Linked DNA regions of Homo sapiens: all the other regions are linked to region 6. The links are contacts of gene promoters, found by promoter capture Hi-C in blood cells and fetal thymus (Javierre and others, 2016). All regions are on one chromosome and are shown on one strand. The core of a region is centred on a gene start or on the middle of the fragment in contact, and the rest is flanking DNA. Distances in the headings are between cores, read along the strand shown. Region 1 overlaps TMC5 (transmembrane channel like 5). Region 2 overlaps CCP110 (centriolar coiled-coil protein 110). Region 3 overlaps TMC5 (transmembrane channel like 5). Region 4 overlaps CCP110 (centriolar coiled-coil protein 110). Region 5 overlaps GDE1 (glycerophosphodiester phosphodiesterase 1). Region 6 holds the start of SYT17 (synaptotagmin 17).

Region 1 (2,700 bases), core at 173-2,672, 260 kb before region 6:
AGTTGCCCCGAGAGAGGCAAAACAAGGCCACAAAGTCCAATTTCAGCCGTACATTTTGTCTTCTTCTTCTTCTTTTTTTTTTTTTTTCTGAGATGGAAGGTCCCTCCTGTTGCCCAGGCTGGAGTGCAATGGCACGATCTCGGCTCACAGCAACCTCCGCCTCCTGGGTTCAAGCGAGTCTCCTGCCTCAGCCTCCCAAGTAGCTGGGATTACAGGCACCTGCCACCATGCCCAGCTAATTTTTTGTATTTTTAGTAGAGACGGGGTTTCAGTATGTTGGCCAGGCTGCTACCGAAGTCCTGACCTCAGGCAATCCACCCACCTTGGCCTCCCAAAGTGCTGGGATTACAGGTGTGAGCCACCGCGCCCGGCCCCCACGTTTTATCTTCTAACGGGGTGAACTTTGTCATGAAAACCCATGATTAACCTCTTAACATAAATGAAATCAATGTTCTATATGCTAGTGATGATCCTGTAAATAATGTAAGATCCCTACATACTTAAGACCCACAGTTAAAATTATGAAAATGATTCTACAGAAGTTTTTAACTAGTTCCAATGAACCATCATTTATTTGACTTAAAACAGACCAAATAATTTTTAAAAAATTGTTTTTGTTGTGGCGCGTGCCTGTAATCTCAGGTACTCAGGAGGCTGAGGCAGGAGAATTGCTTGAACCAGGGAGTGGGAGGTTGCAGTGAGCTGAGACCGTGCCACTGCACTCCAGCCTGGCGACAGAGCGAGATTCAGTCTCAAAAAAAAAAAAAAAAATTGTTTTTATTGCAGAGAGTGGAGAGAAGGAAAGAAATTAGTCCCAATAAAATTCTGTTTTGCCATCTAAGGATATTAAAGGCAATGGCAGCTATCACAATTGACTATCACCATTATCTCATAAAACATTTTATGGACTTAAAAAAAAGAGAGGGAGACCCCATCTCAAAAAGAAGGGTAGTTTATTTAACCGAATAAATTCAGCTGTATGAAAACTTACTTTTTTGCCCTTATTGTTCTTGCTTTGTCCCAAGTAGATGCAAATGTTGTGCAAACCAACTTGATCTTAAGATGTTGTTGAGAACACTGGAGTCACGTGTCCATGGGTCCTTCAGGCTGGCTTTTGATGGGAGCTGGGATGCAGATGATTTACGGAGGGTTATAATCTGTGATGCTGGTCTGAAGTCTGAATATTCCAAGTTGCTGACTGCAGGCAGAGCCTCATGTCCTGAAAATCAGAAGACAGAGGACTTAAACTTCCATAAAAGATGGGCTCATACTGTACAACCCAATCCTGTGCATTTGGAAGCAGAAAACACTGCCTCAAATGGCTTCCTGTTTTCTCTTCTCTTAAAAACTTGAAACATTAGACTACAGTGAAGCATAGAGAAGAAAAGGTCAAATATTAACTCATACTAATCTTTTTCATATGAATTCCAGACTTGCATTTGTTTTCTTAAGGAAATAAAACATTTCTGGTGAAGCTCTCTAATACCTCTTCCTAATCCAATTTTCCAGTGTCCTCTTCCCTGTCTGGAAGGTGCCACTATCGTAAATGTGGTGTGTGACTTTCCAGGGCATATGCTGTTCATACCGTGACCACTGTTATGAGTTGAGTTGCATCCCCTCAAAAAGGTATGTTCAAGTCCCAGTCCGCAGTACTTCAGAATGTGACCTGATTTCTAAGTAGGATCTCGGTGGAGGTAATCAAGTTAAAATAAGTTCACTGGGGTGGGACCTAATGCAACATGACTGGTGTCCTTATAAAAAGGGGAACTTTGGGCCAGGCACAGTGATTCCCGCCGTAATCCCAGTACTTTGGGAGGCCGAGGCAGGTGGATCACCTGAGGTCAGGAGTTCAAGACTGGCTAATTCTAAAAATTCTTGAAAGGCTATGAAAAAGAATTTAAAAAAGAAGAAATCGCTCATTCCCAGGCACCTCATTTCAACCAAAGTTTCACATTAGCGGTTCTGGAAGCTCCCATTCTTTTTGCAGGCACCTGATCTTGGACAGACAACTCCAACACAAGGATGATGGCCCCCACACATGGACGAGTGGTTGCCAGAGCACCAGGTCATGGGACGCTCACACACAGGCACATTTCAGCAGAGACATTGATTTCGTTTGCTTGCCTGCTCTTGATTGCTCTTTCTGGGAATGTGTATTAGTGTAATGATTACTTTGGCTGTCAGCCTCGATGCCATGACAAATAAATGCCAGGAACTCCTTTATCTGCAGTGTGTAATGTTTAGGACCAGGAAATAAAGGTAATGTCAATAGTCTCTAAATAGCAAGTGAGAGCAATAGCTTCCATCACTCAATTAACAAAGCCTTCCTGTAAATAAACATTTGTTAGTATTGAGATCCATGTTGGCTTTTCAGAGTGTCAGGCACATTCACAGCCATACACTTAGACTCCTTGGAGCCTAAGAAAATGAGGCCTATGCTTAGAAAATAAGGTCTGTGGTTTCAAGACAGCAAGATCAAACCTATGAATAGGAAAATAAAAATACTGGTCGGGCATGGTGGCTCATGCCTGTAATCCCAGCACTTTGGGAGGCTGAGATGGGCAGATCACTTGAGGCCAGGAATTGGAGACCAGCCTGACTAACATGGCGAAAACCCATCTCTACTAAAAATAAGAAAATGAGCCAGGCGTGGTGGCTCGCACCTGTAATCCCAACTACTTGGGAGGCTGAGGCACAGGA
Region 2 (2,700 bases), core at 168-2,667, 360 kb before region 6:
GTTGGAGTACAGTGGTGCGATCCCGATCCCTCCTGGGTTCAAGCGATTCTCCTGCCTCGGCCTAACGCACAGCTGGGATTACAGGCACCCACCATCATGCCTAGCTAATTTTTATATTTTTAGTAGACAAGGGGTTTCGCCATGTTGGCCAGGCTGGTCTCGAACTCCTGACCTCAAGTGATACACCCATCTCGGGCTCCCAAAGTGCTGGGATTACATTTTTTTTTTTTGAGAGAGGGTCTCACTCTGTTGCCCAGGCTGTTGTGCAGTGGCTCGATCTCGGCTCACTACCTTTGCCTACTGGGTTCAGTGGATCTTGGCTCACTGCAACCTTCGCCTCCTGGGTTCAAGGGATCCTCCTGCCTCAGCCTCCCACATAGCTGGGATTACAGGCATCCACCACCACGCCCAGCTAATTTTTGTATTTTTAGTAGAGACGGGGTTTCGTCATGTTGGCCAGGCTGGTCTCAGCCTCCCAAAGTGCTGGGATTACAGGCATGAGCCACCCCGCCCAGCCCTATCTTCAAAGAATTCCAAAAATCTTTAACCTGTTTATCAAACTTCACTTCCAGTTCATAGGAACTACAGGGACTAGAGAAACAAGTTAAATAACACTATTAGGAAACAATGGGACAAATCCAAGATCTAAGGAATTCTACAAGACAATAGCTCTGGTCTCTTTAAAAATTCAGTATCATAGTTTTGTTATTTTTTTAAAGACAGTATCTCACTCTGTCACCCAGGTTGGAGTGCAGTGGCATGATCAGGGTTCACCGCAGCCTCAGCCTCCCGGGCTCAGGTGATCCTCCCACCTCAGCCTCTAGAGCAGCTGAGACTCCTGGTGCGCGCCACCACACCCAGCTCTTTTTTGTATTTTTTGTAGGGATGAGATTTCACCACGTTGCCCTGACTGGTCTCAAACTCTGGGGATCAAGCAATGCAATCCACCCACCTCAGCCTCCCAAAGTGCTGGGATTATAGGCGTGAGGCACCATGCTCAACCAATAAAAAAAACTGTTTTTAAGACGTACAGTAGCTATTTTAGATTAAAATAAAGAAACATAACAAGCAAATACTAATTGTGAACTTTGGATCCAGATTGGGGGAATAAAGTTATAAAAGGCATTTTGAGCACAAATGGAAAAATTTAAATATGAACAGAATTATTAGATATTATTAAAAATTATTAGTTTTCTTAAGATGTGATAATGGTATTGGGGCTTTACATAGGAGAATGTCCTTATTTTTAAGAGATGTACACCAAAATATTTAGGGGAGCAGTGTCAGGTCTCCGTGGTTTTCAAATAGCTAGGCAATTTTTAAAAATGTCATATGTACACACACACATAGATGTATATAAAAATCACAAACACAATAAAGCAAAGATGACAACAATGTTAAAAATTATTTAATCTAATGGTAAATCTATGGGTGGTCACTGCACTATCCTTTCAACTTTGCTGTATGTTTGAAAGTTTCATTACAAAAAGTTGGCAGTTAGCTCTGGTGTCTTTAAAAATTCAATTCAATTAATTAAAATTAATCTCTTAACTCCTGTTATACCAAAAAATAAATTTAAAGCTCACTTTTTTCTAATATTAGTTTGTGATTTAAAATAAAGTCATATGCATTTTTAAAATATCCAATTAGTATCAAAGGGTGTATGATGAAGTGTCTTCCCTATTATCCTATATTCTCTCACCACTCCCCAGAAAAGGAATAGCCATCCTTTGAAAAACCCAAATGGTTAACTTATATTGGGTACCTCTTATGATCCAGGTGGTATTCTAACCATTTTATATCTACGAATTCATTTAATCTTCAAAATAGCCTTATGAGGTAGGCACTATTTTATCCCCATTTAACAAATAAGAAAATGGACCACAAGTTTACACAGCAAGTAAGTAGCAAAGCAATGATTTGGACCCAGGCCAGAAGGCTCCACAGCCTAGACTTTTTTTTTCCTTCTTTTGGGATAGGGTCTTGCTCTGTTAGCCCAGGCTGGAGTTTTTTTCCTTCTTTTGGGATAGGGTCTTTCTCTGTAGTCCAGGCAATGATGCAATCCTGACTCACTGCAGCCTGCAACTCCTAGGTTCAAGCGATCCTTCCGCCTTAGCCTTTGAAGAGCTGGGACTACAGGCACATGTCACTGCGCCAGGCTAATTTTTTAACATGTTTTTATAGAGATGAGGTCTCACTATGTTGACCAGGCTAGTCTTGAATTCCTGGTCTCAAGCAATCCTCTTCCTTCCGGTCTCTCAAAGCATTGGGACTATAGGTGTGAGCCACTGTGCCTGGCCCAGAGTCTGGACCTCTAATCATGACTCTATACTGCCCCTGACAGCATGCTGCACACGGTGTTTTACACTAGATCATTGAGATCCTTCCATGCCTCAACATTTACATCTGCCTTACTGTAATGGTATGTATGAGAGTTTATAAAATAGACCATAGTTAAACTACTCCACTACTGATGGACATTTAGGTGGTTCGTCAACCTTTGCTATTTTAAACAATGCTAATGTAACTTTGTACTTATTTCTTTGGGCTCACATATAATTGTAGGATATACCCAAAAATGGAACTGCTGACCCAAAGGCTATGTATGCTTTTAAATTCTACCAAACTGCTCATCTAGAAATAAAATAAACTGATTCTCTTAGCAAAAGTGCATTAAAAGTGCATTTTCTCCACAATCTA
Region 3 (2,700 bases), core at 161-2,660, 320 kb before region 6:
AGGATAATTTGAGGCCAGGAGTTTGAGACCAGCCTGGGCAACACAGGGAGACCCCATTTCTCCAAAAAATTTAAAAATTAGCCAAGTGTAGTGGTGCACACCTGCAAGCCCAGCTACTTGGGGGCTGAGGTGGGAGGATGGCTTGAGCCTGAAAGGTTGAGGTTGCAGCAAGCCATGACCATGCCGCTACAGTCTAGCCTGAGTGAGAGATCATGACCCTGTCTCAACCAAAAAAGAAAGAGAGAAGTAAGGAAGGAAGGAAGGAAGGAGAAGGGGAAGGGAAGGGAAGGGAGGGGAAGGGGAAAGGAAGGGAAGGGAGGGGAAGGGAGAAAGAAGGGGAAGGGAAGGGAGGGGAAGGGAGAAAGAAGGAAGGAAGGAAGGAAGAAAAAATGAAGAGGAAAGGAACGGAACTGAAAGGAAAGGGAAGGGAGAAAGGGAGAAAGAGAGGGAGGGAGGGGAAGGGAAGAGAAGAGAAAAGAAAAAAAGGAAGGGAAGGAAGGAAGGAAGGAAGGAAGGAAGGAAGGAAGGAAGGAAGGAAGGAAAGAAAACTACCTATGCAAGGGTAGAGTCACCCAGAACACTGAGCTATGCTATAGCCATTTGCTTTCCAACCAAACATCCCTACTGCTGTTTCCCTCGAGAGCTCCTGGCTTTCCCTGCTAGATTCCCCGGGTACCACACTCACAGCACAATGAGGGTGAGGATGAAAAAGAAGTGCACACTTCCAATGAGGTTCCGATAGATCCAAACAACCCACAGGTAGCCAGGCCGTGTACTTAGGGTGTCGATCCAGCTGTAGATGGAGTGAATGAAGAGAGGCAGACCTCGAAAAGGGCCACAGTCAGCTGAAGGCTTCAATCTGGTAAAACAAAGATGGAAGAACATCTCTAGCACAAGACTCAGGGATGGTTATTCTAGAATCAGGGTGTCCCTTCTGGGCTCTGGGCCTGAAAACATCAAGTCTTGCCTGATCCAATCACACCCACTTCCCAAAGAAACCCTCTTGCTCTCAGCCTTGCTGGGGTGACCTGTACTCTAAGGACCTGCTCTCAGATCAGAGCTGACCCAACAGCAGCCAATCCAAAGGCCAAGCAGTGACTTCTGCAGTAACTTGGCTCAATGATATGAATGGGGGCAGTCAGACTTTTTTTCTTAAGAAGTTGAATTAAGGCCAGGCACTATGGCTCATGCCTCTAATCCCAACAGTTTGGGAGGTCAAGGTGGGAGGATTGCTTGAGCCCAGAAGTTCAAGACCAGCCTGGGCAACATAGTGAGACTCCATCTCTACAAAAAAATAATTAGCTGGGCATGGCAGCACATGCCTGTGGTCCTGGCTACATAGGAGGCTGAGGTGGGAGGATCACTTGAGCCCAGGAGGTTGAGGCTATAGTGAGCTGTGATCACACCACTGTACTTCAGCCTGGGCAACAGAGCAAGACCCTGTCTGAAAAAAAAAAAGAAATGAAATTAAAGACAAGTATGGTGGCTCGCCTGCAATTCCAGCACTTTGAGAGGCCAAGGCAGAAGGATCTCTTGAGGCCAAGAGTTCGAGACCAGCCTAGGCAACATAGCAAGACACCCATTTCTAAAAAAAAAAAAAAAAAAAAAATTAGCCAGGCATGCCAGGCGCGGTGGCTCATGCCTGTAATCCCAGCACTTTGGGAGGCCGAGGCGGGTGGATCACAAGGTCAGGAGATCAAGACCATCCTGGCTAACACGGTGAAACCCTGTCTCTACTAAAAATACAAAAAATTAGCTGGGCGTGGTGGCGGGCGCCTGTAGTCCCAGCTACTCAGGAGGCTGAGGCAGGAGAAGGGCGTGAACCTGGGAGGCGGAGCTTGCAGTGAGCCGAGATTGCGCCACTGCACTCCAGCCTGGATGACAGAGTGAGACTCTGTCTCAAAAAAATAAAAAATAAAAAAATAATTAGCCAGGCATGGTGATGTGTGCCTATAGTCCCAGCTACTCGGGAGGCTGAGGTGGGACAATCACGTGAGCCCAGGAGTTTGAGCTGTGATTGCGCCCCTGCATTCCTGCCTGGGTGGCAGAGCAAGGCCCTGTCTCAAAGAAAGAAATTGAATTAAGAAGCATAAAGAGGGAAGCCTGTTAGCTATGGAGGAATGAGCAGAAACTATAGGGCAACAAGGAACTGGTGAGGAAGAGAGAGAAGAGAGTGGATATGCCAAGAGGAGCAAGGGCGTTGTGGAGCAAGGAAGAGAGAGAAGAGAGTGGATATGCCAAGAGGAGCAAGGGTGTTGTGGAGCAAGGAACTGAGAGCCCCAGTTTCACATGTGTCCTAAAAATCATCTCCCTTGTTCATTAATTCATTCAATTGTTCATTCAACCATGGCTTATTCTGTTAAGCACTGTTCTAGTCAGGCTCTGGGGACTTCATATTAAGCAAGTTCCTGCCCTATTGGGATTACATTCTGGTGGGAAAAACGGACAATCGTTGAGTAACAATTAAAGACTCACACAGAGGCATTCCTGATTATGAATGATAGAATGAAGGAAAGAAACTCAGGTCTGAGAGAGAGAAGCAGTGGGGAACTGAGAGCAGACAAGGAGGGCTGTGAAGATCAGATCTTGGAGAGGGCCTTGGAGCTGAGAATCAGAGGGTGGAGAGGAGGCAGCCAAGCAAAGGGAGTGGGAAAAGGACTTCACTCAGAGGACTCTGCCCTTGTTGGGAGGGGCTTGCTG
Region 4 (2,700 bases), core at 84-2,583, 380 kb before region 6:
CTTGTTTAGATACATATTAATTCAAGGGTTAAGTTCATTTGTATTAATAAGTATGTTGCAATGCAATTTAACCTCAATAGTTCAAAATAATGAACTTCATTGTATGTTACTAACTTCAGTGACTGACTATACATCCTTTATACTGTTGAGTATTGCTGAATAAAAACAGTACTTGCTATTTTGCTTATAAGTTCACAAGTGACAAATAGTGGAGATGAAATGCATGAGAAAAGAACATGGAGAGTAGTCACTGTGGCAAATTGGTATCAGGCAAAACAATACTAATTCCTCAATGATTTTCCAACTTGCTAAGTTTCAGTGCAATATAGAATACTAACATGAGAAAAACAGAAAATGTCTTAAAATTCCACAGGTTTGGTGTTTGGTCTGAGTCCTTTCAAATGGTTATCTTTCAAACTAGCTTATTCTGACTGCCTCTGGAGTAAACAGTATCTTCAGCTATGTAATCCTTTAAGACAATTCCATTAACTGTCACTCACAATGATTTCCAAAGATGATCTTTTAAATTATCCTATATATGTGTGACACTATGAATTACCTTCACTACATACATACAAAAGGTCAGCCATCATTTCAAAGTTACGACCAATAGCTTGTTCCCTCCTAATTTGAAGGAAATCACTTAGTAATAAAGCTCTAAAATTTGCCTAATTGTATATTAATGGAAAGATTAAAATTGATTAAAGGTTTAATCTTCAATGCCTGGTGATTAATTTAGGTTTGTTGTAAATGTCTAGAAAGCAGTATAGTTAAAGCACAACATTTGGAAAGTATTTTTAAATGGATCACATAATTTTTAAGTGAGCTTAATCAAAGTGTCTTAACAAAGATACCTAAAAAATATTAAAGCATTTGGTTAAGAGCTTTGAATTTGCTCAAGAATGAGTTTGTCTTCTTGCCACCATAAACAGAATTTTAAAATACAGTTTTTAGTTTAGCTCTTAATCCTCAAATAATGAACATAAGGAGAGATTTAGCTCAAGCTTTGGACTGAGCAAAATATGAAGCCCTCCTCCCACTGGCATATTCACATGTGATCTTATAGTCTGAGGGAGAAAGTTTATCCCCTTATGTGCAGATACACTTCCCCAAGCTGAACAGACAATGCACAGACTTAGCACCAGAGATGATCGTTATCTTTTATTCATTAAATAAAAAGGTTTTCTGAATTAAGCATGGCAAATTCTACAATTTTTTCAGAATGAAAAATACAAGGTGCTTTCCACAGAAATATTATAGAAATGAAGACTGGAATCACACTTTTACTAAGACTTCCTGACTGCCATACAATGCTAAGACCAAAGAACACTAATAAGATGACTGTGAATATGCCAAAATTATGGTGGCAAGGAAAGACAATCTATTCCACTTCTATGGCCTGAGTTATGGGGCAGCTTGTGCACTTCCTTCTATTGAATGGGCTTCAGGAATTTATTTTCTACAAACCTGAAACAGGCACTCTGTTAGGCACTCTGCTCTGTGAAGGCTTCTGTCTATTTTGCACAACCCCCTTCACTGATGTCTTAGGGGTTCTAATTGAATATAAAAAAATTAATAAGTCACTGGCATTAAGGTCTAAATGTTCAAAATTCAAAGAAAGCAATCACATTGCATCAACTGTCCAAAGCACAAATAAGCTTGAAAAGAACTGAAGTCTCATGCATGCGCACAGTAAGGAAAGCTAAACTCTGGCTTCAGCAGGAGACTATAAGCACGAGTCATACTCTGTTGGAGAATCACTTCGGTGATGCTGAATTTACTATATGGATATTTAAAATACTTTATGAGTAAAATGGTATGAAATGAAAAGTAAAAACATCCCAACTTAAGACAGTAATTAGAATACACAACAGTACACCAAGAGGGTTACATTTGAAGACAAAACTTTAAAATATCTTTCCCAATGCTATAAAGAAAAAAAATCCCATTGAAAAACCATTATCCTTTACATAAAGAACACTAGATTTATTTTTCCCTCTCAAATCTAATCTTGGTTTCCGTAGTTTTCAATACCCGTGTGTGGCATTCTTACCCTTGTCTACTAAGTAGCCTATGAACAGGTGCATTCTGTCCTTGGTTTGGCTGAAGGACTCTGTTGACAAATTAAATGAAAAATTAATTTAATAGGTTAAATTCCATTTTTTCCCATTTTCTTTCAACGGATGAAAGATGATGACTGTAAGGTAAAGGTCAACTATGCAATAATATGGCCTATATATTACCACAAATCAGAGCAAATCGACTAAAGCATATTAATATGATACTTGTATTTTGCTCACTAAGAGTCCAAACCTTAGGTTTTTATCAGCAAAGAAATGTCCAACATATAGACTAACCCTTGTGCTTTTAGATAATTTTCTTATACATATGCTTTACAAAAGCTAACTTTTCCCTTCAAACCAGTGAGAGAAGAAAGTATCACTCTCATTTTACAGGAGTAAAAAACAGGTCAGAAATATTAAAGTTCGCTTTTTAGCTTTATTTTTTATTTATTTATTTTTTTGAGATGGGTCTTACTATGTTACCCATACTGGTTTGAATTTCTGGGCTTAAGCTATCCTCCTGCCTCAGCCTCCCGAGTACCTGGGACCATAGGAGCATGCCACTGTGCCCAGCTTAAGTTAGCTTTTTTTTGAGACGGACCCTTGCTCTGTCGCCCAGGATGGAGTACAGTGGTGC
Region 5 (2,700 bases), core at 129-2,628, 340 kb before region 6:
AGGCACCAAGAACATTACAGTGGGGGAAAGGAACTCTCTTCAATAACTGGTACTGGGTAAACTGGATATCCATATGCAGGATAATGAAACTAGACCCCTATCTCTCACTATATTTAAAAAATCAACACAAAATGGATTAAAAGTTTAAATTTAAGACCAGAAACTATAAAACTACTAGAAGAAAACACAGGGGAAAAGCTCTGGGACATTGATCTAGGCAAAGATTTTATGGCTAAGACCTCAAAAGCACAGGCAACAAAAACAGGCAAATGTGACTATATTAAACTAAAAAGCTTCTGCACAGCAAAGGAAATAATCAACAGAGTAAAAAGAAAACCTGTTGAATAGGAGAAAATATTTGCAAACTATTCAACAGACAAGTAACTAATATCCAGAATATACAAGGAACTTAACAGCAAAAACAATAATAATCCCATTAAAAACATCTATTCAAATCCTAATTTGAATAAACATTTTTCAAAAGAGGACACACAAATGGCCAACAGGCATATGAAAAAACACCACAAATTATTAGGGAAATGCAAATCAAAACCACAATGAAGTACCATCTTATCTAGTTAGAATGGCCATTATTTAAAAGATTTTTAAAATAACAGATGCTGGCGAGGATACAGAGCAAAAGGAACTCTTATATTCTGTTGGTGGGAATGTAAATTAGTACAGCCATTATGGAAAACAGTATGGAGGTTTCTCAAAAAACTAAAAATATAGAACTACCATACAATCCAGTAATCCCACTAGTTGGTATCTATCCAAAAGAAAGGAAACTAGTGTATCAAAGGCATACTTGCACCCCCATGTTTATTGCAACACTATTCACAATAGCCAAGATACAGAATCAACCTAAGTGTTCATCAGTGGATGAATGGATAAACTGTGGTAAATATACTCAATGGAATACTATGTAGTTAGCCATAAAAAAGGATGATATCCTGTCATTTACAGCAACATGGATGGAACTGAAGGTATTATGTTAAATGAAATAAGATAAGCCAGGCACAGAAAGGCAAATATTACATGTTGTCACTCATATATGGGAGCTAAAAAAGTTGATCTCATGGAGGTAGAGAGGAGAATGATAGTTACCAGAGGCTGGGAAGGGTTTGGGGTTGGGGGAAGAGGAGAATAAGGAGAATTTGGTTAATGAGTACAAACATACAGTTCGATAGAAGGTATAAATTCTAGTGTTCAATAACATAGTAAAGTGATTATAGTTAACAATCTGTTGTATATTTCAAAATAGCTAGGAGATTTAGATGTTCCTAACACAAAGAAATGATAAATATTTGGGGTGATGGACATCCTAAATACCCTGATTTTATCATTATACATTATGCGCATATCACAAAAATATGTCTAAGTGTATAGCAATAAAAATGTGGAAAAAAGAATATCTATAATTTGGTTCAAATTATTACAGTAGGACAGGCGCAGTGGCTCACACCTGTAATCCTAGCACTTTGGGAGGCCAAGGCAGGTAGATCACTTGAGGTCAGGAGTTCAAGACCAGCCTGGCCACCATGGTGAAACCCCGCCTCTACTAAAAACACAAAAAATTAGCCAGGCGTGGTGTCACACGCCTGTAGTCCTAGCTACTTGGGAGGCTGGGGCGGGAGAATTGCTTGAACCTGGGAGTTGGTAGTTCCAGTGAGCTGAGATTGCACCACTGCACTCCAGGCTGGGCAACAGAGCAAGACTCCGTCTCAAAAAAAAAAAAAAAAATCTTAAAGTAAAGTATCTTTGGACTTTGCTATGGTCGAAAAAAGGAAGTTGGAGAAAACACTCTTTCCTTTTGATTGAGAGACATATGCAAAATGTTTGTTGCAATACAGTTTATCTGTTTCTCTTTTTTCCTACAACGTATTTTCTCTTCTCTTACAGGAATGATTTCCCTGATGAAAAGATCCCTACCCTAAGGGAAGCTGTTGCAGAGTGCCTAAACCATAACCTCACAATCTTCTTTGATGTCAAAGGCCATGCACACAAGGTACAGTTTAAATTGTGGACTTCACTTTGTTAAAAAGACATCTTATTTCATTGACGGTCATTTCCGAAGTTACATATATTTTGTTATTTATTCTTTTTAAAACTTATTTTTATAAATTGTATTTGTTTAATGGAAGTGTACAATGCAGGAATCTATATCATTTAAGGAAACAGTGCATTATGGAACTTTTTAACCTTTTATGGAAACTTTACAAAACCAGCATAAAATGGAAGAGTCAAGTTTCTATTATTTACATAAAGCATTTACAAAAGATATTAAGTAAACAGTAAAAAAGACATTTCTAGAAAAAAACCACTGTAGTAACCTTGAGTTACTTGAAAAAAAGGAATTCCGAAGTTGTACACAAGACCAATTTTATCTAGCTTAAAAGTTAAGGGCCTTATATGGACAACTATGGACTGCATTTAAAGAGAATTCCTATATTAAAAGCTTCTAATAGTTAACAGAACATATACCTTTTACATAGATTTATCCCTTTGTATAATTTATATCCCTTATGTATAGTTTTTTATTCATTGATTTTAGCAGTTATACTTTTATCAGAAAATCATTTATTTTCTTCAAATGTATTTGACATTCCTAGATAAAATTTTGCTTAAATTTTAGGGCCTGCACTTACACTCATAAGAACATATTATTACAGTGAAAATCAGTGGGAAGATATGATTCTG
Region 6 (2,700 bases), core at 37-2,536:
TGAGCCAAGATGCACCCTGGACGTGGGAGTCTGTAAGCTTCTCTGCCCAGCTCAGAGGCGCCAGCGCCAGAAGCAAGCAGCTCAACGGGTCTCACTGCGGGTCTGCCTGCTTGACCTTGGCGCTGACCTGCGGTCACTTCCCTTCTTGCAGAGGAGAAAGGTCTTTTCACCAAGAAGCCCGGCCCACCCCTCCGCCCCCTCCCCCCAAAAAAGGCTGCTTAGAAATTATTTCAGAATTATTTCAGCCCAAGGATTCTTGGGGGACGTTTCTTCAAGGTGAAGAGGGTCCACATCTCCCAGACCCCAATGCAGCGGAGTAAAGTAACAGGCTCCCTTCTCTTCACCAGCGCGCCTCTGGCCTCTGGGTGTCCCCCACCCCTCAGCACCCAGTGCCCAGGAGAGACGACGTCCTTGTCCCTCCTGGTCGGAACAGCTGCCTCAGGCTCGCTCCGCCGGCCAATTAGCCGGAGCCGTCACCACGGCAACGGCAGCTGGCGGGCCGGGTGGCTGGCGCGCCCCGGGCCGCCCTCCCCACGGCCCCTCCCCTGGGGTGGGGTGCCAAGGAGAGGGAGGGGGCAGGGGAGAAGAAAAGTCCGCCCCACCCCCCATTCCCTCCCCAAGAGGCAAGGGCGCGCGTTGCAGAGTACACATAGGACCCTCCATCCCGGGGTTTGGGGGTCCCCAGTCTCTCCTCCCGGGGCGCACCCCTGTTGCTGCACAGGTTGCCCGCGCACGGGCACCCTTTTTCTCGAAGCAAGTTTGTGGGAGCCTAGCCGTGGGCCCTCCCTTCCGCGCGCTCCCAGCCGGAGGGGGCGCGGCACCCCCTACCCGCACCCCGGACCTTGCCCCCAGCCTCAGCCCTACCTGGATGTACGCCATTTTCGCCCGCGCGCACTCACTCCGGCCCGGGCATGGCGCCGCCACGGCCACTTTGCCCTCGCCAACAGCGGAGGGGGAAGAAAGCAAAGGGGGAAAGGAAGAAAAAGGCAGCCGGTGGCCCCAGACGTGACTGGCGTGGCTGATGAGCGGCGCCCGCCCCTCCGCCGGCCGCCCCGTCCTTGCCTTTCCCTGCGTTCCGGCTCTCGGAATCGGGGCCGCCTCCCCGGTTCGGAGATATCGGGCGCCCAGGGCCCCCGCCTCGGCCTCCCTCGCTGTCCCGTGCTCCCCACCGAGGCGCTCCCCAGGCTGGAATAAGGCCGGGGCGCCTGGGCAAGCAGCCCGGGGCAGCTGCGGGGACTGCAGCGACCCCAGCGCAGGCGGGGCCGGAGACGCCGGGGCCGGAGCGCGCAGGAGGCGGGGGAGGGGATGGGAATGGGGAAGGGGGTGGGAGGGGGCGGTACACAGGTCAGCCCATCCTGCTGGCACGGGGGCTGGCACCTACCGAAAGCAGCGCCCCCGGGGCAGCCGTGGAGCCGAGGGGACACAGTGCAGCCTGCCATGAAGTCTGCAGCAGGGAGGGTCCTTCCCATCCAGCCCTCTCCCCAAACTGGGTTGGAAAAACTTTATTCCCGCCCCACCCGACGCGCCTAGCACGGTTGCGGTGAGGCTTGCAGAGGCTGCGTGGATGGGAGCCTCAAGTTAAGGTGGGCGTAGGGCGTCCCAAACGGAGGTGCTGCGTCCAGGGCTGCAGGGGGCGCGCGGAGAGAGCGGAGCGCCCCTTTACCCTAAACCTGCCGGAGTTGCGCCCTGGACGCAACAGGTCTAGCGCGGGGCGGCCCGGCAGCGCCACCCAGCGTCGTGCCCGGCCTCGTGCGCTCCTCTGCCCACGGGCAGGCGGCCGCCAGCGAGCGTGCGCCCCGGGGCGTGTCCACCGCCGCCCTCCTGCCTGTCCTCGTGGCTGGGGCGCCCTGGACCCAGAGGCCTCCATCAAACCTCCCAGCCCAAGGCCTCTGGCTCTCCACTCAGAGATTCGAGGTGGAACATTGCCCTCCGCTGGATTTCTTATTTTATTTTATTTTATTTTATTTTATTTTATTTTATTTTATTTTATTTTATTTTATTTTATTTTTGACACAGGGTGTCACTCTGTCACCCAGGCTGGAGTGCACTGGGGTAATCTTGGCTCACTGAAACCTCCGCCTCCCAGGTTCAAGGGATTCTCGTGTCTCAGCCTCCCGAGTAGCTGGGACTACAGGCACATGCCACCACGCCCACTAATTTTTGTATTTTTGGTAGAGAAAGGGTTTCACCATGTGGGCCAGGCTGGTCTCGAACTCCTGGCCTCAAGTGATCTGCCTGCCTCGGCCTCCCAAAGTGCTGGGATTAGGGGCGTGAGCCACTGCGCCGGGCCGGTTTTCTTTTTAATATGCCCAGTCATCTCCTGTTGCCGGACACCAGCTTATCAGCATTTTAATTTTAACCTCCCAGTGCCTCTTTTTCCTCAGTAAAAACAGGAGAAAATCTCCACCCTGCCTATCCTCCAGGGCTGATTTGTGGGAATAAATGAGAAAATGAATATGGGAGTAACAAAAGATGGATATTCAGATGCATATATTTTTTGTCTAAAAATCTAGCAGACCTATACATTTTTTAGTATGATATATTTAGTTTGTAGCATATAGCACGTAACGCATATTGAGTGCTTATGATTCTGCAGGCATACACGCCTCAACACTTCACAAGCGTTATTTCATTTCAACCTGCAGTACCTTGATCACTCCTATTAGGTAGCACCTGTCCAGCCAGAGTAGGCACTCAGTA

The links. Contacts are between HindIII fragments. The CHiCAGO score rates a contact against its expected background, and 5 or more counts as called.
Region 1: a fragment that was not itself captured here is called in contact with the fragment with the promoter of SYT17 in region 6 in 4 of 17 cell types (M1 macrophages, M2 macrophages, monocytes and 1 more); the score reaches 9.9 in M1 macrophages.
Region 2: a fragment that was not itself captured here is called in contact with the fragment with the promoter of SYT17 in region 6 in 2 of 17 cell types (monocytes and M1 macrophages); the score reaches 5.2 in monocytes.
Region 3: a contact is called between a fragment that was not itself captured here and the fragment with the promoter of SYT17 in region 6, in 5 of 17 cell types (M0 macrophages, M1 macrophages, M2 macrophages and 2 more). The highest score is 10.5, in M0 macrophages.
Region 4: a contact is called between a fragment that was not itself captured here and the fragment with the promoter of SYT17 in region 6, in 3 of 17 cell types (monocytes, M0 macrophages and M1 macrophages). The highest score is 7.4, in monocytes.
Region 5: a contact is called between a fragment that was not itself captured here and the fragment with the promoter of SYT17 in region 6, in 8 of 17 cell types (M0 macrophages, M1 macrophages, monocytes and 5 more). The highest score is 16.9, in M0 macrophages.

The regions. Positions count from the first base shown.
Region 1 is chr16:19,428,932-19,431,631 of GRCh38, reverse strand. It overlaps TMC5 (transmembrane channel like 5), which reads right to left. Exons shown (of 22, transcript NM_001261841.2): 2 at 992-1,219. Among named protein-coding and RNA genes, the nearest start is that of TMC5, 12 kb to the right of the region's middle. The HindIII fragment of the contact is 3,518 bases long and covers 1-2,700 here.
Region 2 is chr16:19,528,213-19,530,912 of GRCh38, reverse strand. All of the region lies in intron 2 of CCP110 (centriolar coiled-coil protein 110), which reads right to left. Among named protein-coding and RNA genes, the nearest start is that of CCP110, 5.6 kb to the right of the region's middle. The HindIII fragment of the contact is 6,012 bases long and covers 1-2,700 here.
Region 3 is chr16:19,488,554-19,491,253 of GRCh38, reverse strand. It overlaps TMC5 (transmembrane channel like 5), which reads right to left. Exons shown (of 22, transcript NM_001261841.2): 18 at 686-859. Among named protein-coding and RNA genes, the nearest start is that of TMC5-AS1, 2.0 kb to the right of the region's middle. RefSeq lists an enhancer at 2,558-2,700. The HindIII fragment of the contact is 2,926 bases long and covers 1-2,700 here.
Region 4 is chr16:19,547,368-19,550,067 of GRCh38, reverse strand. It overlaps CCP110 (centriolar coiled-coil protein 110), which reads right to left. Exons shown (of 14, transcript NM_001323572.2): 13 at 2,054-2,113. Among named protein-coding and RNA genes, the nearest start is that of VPS35L, 7.0 kb to the left of the region's middle. The HindIII fragment of the contact is 654 bases long and covers 1,007-1,660 here.
Region 5 is chr16:19,510,147-19,512,846 of GRCh38, reverse strand. It overlaps GDE1 (glycerophosphodiester phosphodiesterase 1), which reads left to right. Exons shown (of 6, transcript NM_016641.4): 3 at 1,903-2,008. Among named protein-coding and RNA genes, the nearest start is that of GDE1, 11 kb to the left of the region's middle. The HindIII fragment of the contact is 2,165 bases long and covers 296-2,460 here.
Region 6 is chr16:19,166,826-19,169,525 of GRCh38, reverse strand. It overlaps SYT17 (synaptotagmin 17), which reads right to left and starts at 1,286. Exons shown (of 8, transcript NM_016524.4): 1 at 865-1,286. The coding sequence starts at 879. RefSeq lists an enhancer at 702-1,449 and a silencer at 1,641-1,890. The HindIII fragment of the contact is 5,386 bases long and covers 40-2,700 here.